Linked DNA regions of Homo sapiens: region 1 is linked to region 2. Evidence: promoter capture Hi-C in 16 types of primary human blood cells and fetal thymus (Javierre and others, 2016). All regions are on one chromosome and are shown on one strand. The core of a region is centred on a gene start or on the middle of the fragment in contact, and the rest is flanking DNA. Distances in the headings are between cores, read along the strand shown. Region 1 overlaps HPS5 (HPS5 biogenesis of lysosomal organelles complex 2 subunit 2). Region 2 holds the start of LDHC (lactate dehydrogenase C).

Evidence for each region. Contacts are between HindIII fragments. The CHiCAGO score rates a contact against its expected background, and 5 or more counts as called.
Region 1: a fragment that was not itself captured here is called in contact with the fragment with the promoter of LDHC in region 2 in 2 of 17 cell types (total CD4 T cells and activated CD4 T cells); the score reaches 5.8 in total CD4 T cells.

What each region holds. Positions count from the first base shown.
Region 1 is chr11:18,288,127-18,290,966 of GRCh38, reverse strand. All of the region lies in intron 16 of HPS5 (HPS5 biogenesis of lysosomal organelles complex 2 subunit 2), which reads left to right. Among named protein-coding and RNA genes, the nearest start is that of SAA1, 23 kb to the right of the region's middle. The HindIII fragment of the contact is 4,236 bases long and covers 1-2,840 here.
Region 2 is chr11:18,410,864-18,413,653 of GRCh38, reverse strand. It overlaps LDHC (lactate dehydrogenase C), which reads right to left and starts at 1,336. Exons shown (of 8, transcript NM_017448.5): 1 at 1,246-1,336; 2 at 811-945. The coding sequence starts at 936. The HindIII fragment of the contact is 7,298 bases long and covers 1-2,790 here.

The sequences.
Region 1 (2,840 bases), core at 341-2,840, 120 kb after region 2:
GATCACAGGCATCAACCACTGTGCCTGGCCCTATTTTTTATTTTTAGAGACAGGGTCTCACTCTGTGCCCAGGCTGGAATGCAGTGGTGTGATCATGGCTCACTGTAGCCTTGATCCCTTGGGTTCAAGCGATCCTCCTGCCTCAGTTTTCTGAGTCGTGGGATTACAGGCATGTGCCACTGTACCCTCTGATTTCTTCATTTTTTTATAGAGATGGGGTCTTACTGTGTTGCCCAGGTTGGTCTTGAAATCCTGACCTCAAAGCAGTCTTCCCACCTTGGCCTCCCAAAATGCTGGGATTATAGGTGTGAGCCACCATGCCTGGCCCTAGAAATTAGTTTTATTTCTCTCATAATGACATTCAGAAAATGGTAGAGCAGTGCTGGGGAAGTTGAGGTTAAAGTAAAATGTTTATAAATGCAGATGTATTAAAAGAAGAAAATCTCTCATGTAACTTACTAATACAGAAATACTATATGGGGTACTTATTGTGTGGCAGATATTATGGTAAACACTTTTCAGCATTGTCTCATTTCATCCTTACAATAATGTTTGGAGTAGATGGTGTTATTCCATTTTATAGATAAGCAGTCTGAGGCAGAGAGAGATCTTAGGTAGCTAAACTGCTGTAATAAATATCTGATAATGAAGTAACTCATACATAAATAGAAGTGTATTTCTTGCTCATGTAACAGTCCAGGACAGGTATTCCAGGTCAGTGGGTAGCTGTCTCCCAGGTGGTAATTCAGCATTCTAGCATTCCAAGTTCCTTCCATTATTTTCAGCTCCATCTTCCCTTAAGGGATGTGGTCATGTTTGGGTTGCTATGTCTGGGGAAAGCATGTAGAAAGTGCTGTCTTATAGGCCTGGCCTGGTAGTGGCTTACCTCTCTTCTGTGTACATTTCCATTGATGAGAATTCTGTCATATAGCCACAACTAACTGCAAAGGAAACTGGGAAATGTAACCTGTCCAGGAGGAAAAGAATGAATATAGGTGAAGAGCTCGCTTACATGTCTGCCTCAGAGACTTTGGTGCATAGCCCGCAGTATCTACCTTGGCGGAAGGTCGCATATGTCATCCTGACATATAATAGAAACCAGCTATCATACCCTAAAAACTATATGCATTGCCCTTTCTGCAGCCATAGTCCCATGTTTTTGAAGAAGTGAATTTTCTTAATTCCAAATCCTACTTGAATAACAGATGCCATATTTCTAATACTTTAGACTTTAAGCAACTTTTCATTCATTACCAAAAGTGAATAGAGATACATTTTTATGTCATCTTACTTAAAGATATTTTAGCTTTCTAGAAACATGGATCTATAGTTACAGATCTGCTTTAATTCAAATATAGCAGTTAAAAGCATAATAATTTTTTTTTTTCTGAGTTGAGGTAGATTGTCTTTTGTGTGAAATAAGAAACAAGCTATTTCTCCTCAGGTAAGTTCAAATGTGTGACATTATTACTCATTGGAAATTTACTGTATCTGTCTCTATTATGTGATCATACCCAGTCACAGAAGAGCAGAAAAGAGTCTCCATCAGCCAGAGTGATAGTTGTTACTACCAGTGCTGGCTAGAGGAAGCATGGTGGGCAATTTGAGTGATATGGCTGCTTACTTGAATTTAGGTGGATATGTCTGGTTTAGCTCCCGCGCAGTCATCAGGCTTCCCCAAACCTCTGAATGGCCTCCTCCTCTGAATTCCTTTAAAGTACTTATTGCCTGACACAGTCAAATGGGAAACAATGAGACTGGGGAAAAAATGACTTTTTTAAAAAAGCATGTATCAGAAAATGAATGTTGGCTCTTAGAACCTGGTGAGTAGGCCTCACCCTTCTAATGATGTGATAATTATGGGAAACAGCTTTTGGAACTGTTATTTGGGATTTGTCTTCAGAGGCAGTTGAAAAATACTTGCCCAGCTTAGGCAACGTAGCAAGACCCCGTCTCTACACACACAAAAACACACACACCAGCCTATGCAATGTAGCAAGACCCTGTCTACACACACATACATATAAACACACACACACATGCCAGCCTAGACAACGTTTCAAGACCTTGTCTCTACACACACACACATGCACACACCCAGGTATTGCAGCTAGGCAACGTAGCAAGACCCTGTCTCTCCACACACGCATGTGCGCATGTGTGCACACAGGCACTGCAGCTAGGCAACGTAGGAAGACCCCGTCGCTGCACACACACACACACACACACACAGCCAGGAGTTCAAGGTTGCAGTGATCACCACTGCACTCCAGCCTGGGCAACAGAATGAGACCCTGTTTCTAAAAAACTAAAAAAGAAAACTACTTGGAAAAAAACCCACTTTACTTTAGATTCATACTTTTTTTTTTTAAACCACAAATAGTTTTAGATCATCACTCCTTTCACCAGACTTGATTTTAAGTGACTTTTGGCTATTCCAAAAAGTCAAATCTTCTGTTCTTCAGAGAATGAGTATTTGCTATACTGGTAACTTTAAAAAAAGGTCAAATATTTTAAAATTAATTTCATTGAATTTAATTCTAAAAGATGGAGTAGGAATACTAGTTCTAGAAAAAACTGAGCAACTTGGCATTGATGATAGCTATGTATATTGGTTTTTGATGTGTGCTTATATGGACAGTTGCTATATATAGGCCTAGATACTCATTATTTTAAGAGTAATAGTCACTGATGTATTAATTATATGTTCCTTCGTCTTATTTAAAACTTTTAATATGCTTTGCCTCCCAATTAGATTTTAAGGTTCTTAAAAGTAGAAATTACATCTCTTGTACTTTTATTTGTTTCTCTTGTAATGCTTAATATTGGGCCTTGCACAT
Region 2 (2,790 bases), core at 87-2,586:
CCGTCTCTACTAAAAATATAAAAATTAGCTGGGCGTGGTGGCACATGCCTGTAGTCCCAGCTACTCAGGAGGCTGAGGCAGGAGAACTGCTTGAACCCGGGAGGCAAAGGTTGCCGGGAGCCGAGATCCTGCCGCTGCACTCCAGCCTGGCAACAGAGCGAGACTCCGTCTCAAAAAAAAAAAAAAAAAAAAAAGAGAGAACAATAAACACTGGGGACTCCAAAAGCAGAGAGGGAGGAGGGCACAAGGGTTAAAAACAATACCTATTGGCAGCCAGGTGTGGTGGCTCATGCCTGTAATCCCAGTACTCTGGGAGGCCGAGGCAGGCGGATCACTTGAGGTCAGGAGTTCGAAACCAGCCTGGCCAACATGGAGAAACCCCATCTCTACTAAAAATATAAAAAATTAGCCAGGCCTGGTGGTGCATGCCTGTGGCCCCAGTTATTCAAGAGGCTGAGGCAGGAGAATCGCTTGATCCCGGGAGGTGGAGGTTGCAGTGGGCCAAGATCGCGCCACTGCACTCCAACCTGGGTAACAGACAAATCCTGTCTCAAAAAAAGAAAAAGAAAAGGAAAGTCAGAAAAAAAAAGAAAGGAAAAGAAAGAAGAAGTTTAAAAAAAAAGGAAAAGAAAGAGAGAAAGAAAAAGGAAGGAAGGAAGGAAGGAAGGGAGGGAGGGAGGGAGGGAGGAAAGGTCAAAGGATACATAATTGCTTTCAAGGGATTAACCTTGCAACCCTGAATACATCGACATATACAACACTCTGAAGTGCTCACTTGATTTTCAGCCACAGGATGGGCTTCTCACTCACCTTCAGTAAGATACTAATAGCACAAGCCATGCCTACGGCACCAGTTCCAACAATAGTAATTTTACACTGGGAGTTTTCATCATCCTCAATTAGCTTCTCAATTAGCTGCTCCTTGACAGTTGACATTTGGAGAACCTGATAGGGATAATGCAATTTCATTGGATTAACCACACTGAACATCTAAGAAACTACCTCTTCAGTTTGCAGAATGTTGGAGCCGGGGATGGGGGGAAGCCAAAGAAAGAATTTCCTGGTCAAAGGATGCGGGGAGGGTAAAGCAAGGCCCAGTCTACCAGGCAATGGGAGGGCTGGGGCACCAGCGGGCTTTTGGATTTCTCCCTGCCCCCAGCCACCACTTTCACCCCAGCACCACACGCTCACAAATGCTTTGCTTGGCGCAATCAGTACAGATGACCCACAGGGACAAAGCACCACCTTTGAAGGAAGGCACAGAAGTGACACCAGAAAAATACACCAACGACAGTTGAGGCGCTAAGCCCGTCGACGGTTGCCCTCCGTGCGACTCGAGACACGCACGTTCCCCCGCTCGGCTCTTATGCGTCAGCACGCAAGCTCCGCCCCCCGCCGGCCCAGGCGCGGGCATGGGGCGTCTTTTCTGCCCTGGAGCGCAGTGTGGGTGGCGGCGGTCCAGATCACCGAAATGCTGATGGGAAGAATTCTAGACTGGCCCAAAGAGTGTGCAAGACGGGGATATCCATGCATTGTTTGCAGGATTTTAAAAAATTATTAACTTCTGTAACTTCAGGACTGAGTGCTGAAATAAAGTTAGAATTTCTCTTGAGAGAACAGAGGGTGGTAATGAAACGCAAAGACGCGAAGGATGCTTTCAATTTACAGCAAGAAATTGTTAATATTTATAACTCATGGCCGGACGCGGTGGCTCACACCTGTAATCCCAGCACTTTGGGAGTCCGAGGCAGGTGGATCACCTGAGGTCAGGAGTTTGAGAACAGCCTGGCCAACATGGCGAAACCCCGTCTCTACTAAAAATATAAAATTAGTCGGGCATGGTGGTGCATGCCTGTAGTCCCAGCTACTTGGGAGGCTGAGGCAGGAGAATCGCTTGAACCCAGGAGGCGGAGGTTGCAGTGAGCCAAGATCGCGCCACTGCACTCCAGACTGGGCAACAAGAGAGAAACTCCATCTCAAAAAAAATTTACATATATATTTTTTTTTTTGTGAGAGAGATATATATCTCACAGAAGGGGACACAACCTACTCCATCTTTTGTAGAGTATTTGCATTTGAACCTTTTTCAAAATCCAAAATATAATTTATTTTTCTTATAATAGCCTGTAGTGTTGTTATTGTTGTTGTTTTTGAGACAGAGTCTCACTCTGTCGCCCAGGCTGGAGTGCAGTGGCACAATCTCAGTTCACTGCAACCTCCGCCGCCTGGGTTCAAGCAATTCTCCTGCCTCAGCCTCCCAAGTAACTGGGACTACAGGCGTGCGCCACCACGCCCGGCTAATTTTTGTATTTTTAGTAGAGATGGGGTTTCACCATGTTGGTCAGAATGGTCTCCAACTCCTGACCTAGTGATCCGCCCTCCCAAAGTGTTGGGATTACAGGCGTGAGCCACCGTGCTGAGCCACCGTGCCCAGCCGCCGGGCAAATTTTTTTGTATTTTTTTGTATTTCACCTTGCTGGCCAGGCTGGTCTCGAACTCTTGACCTCAAGTGATCCACCCACCTCGGCCTCCCAAAGTGCTGGGATTACAGGCGTGAACCACCGCACCCAGTCAGTATTTGTTTTCAATATGGTTCAGATTATGCAATAACCCTGCTTTAAACTCTTCCGTGGCTTTCCATTACAGGTAGAGTAACCCACTTTTACCACAACCTAGATCTTCAAGATTTGGCCTCCTACCCCCACTTCCCATATCATCTCAGGACACTCAATACACTTCCTTCCAACTAGGCTTTGGACAGCTTTTTTGGATCAGGACTTTTTGCTGTTC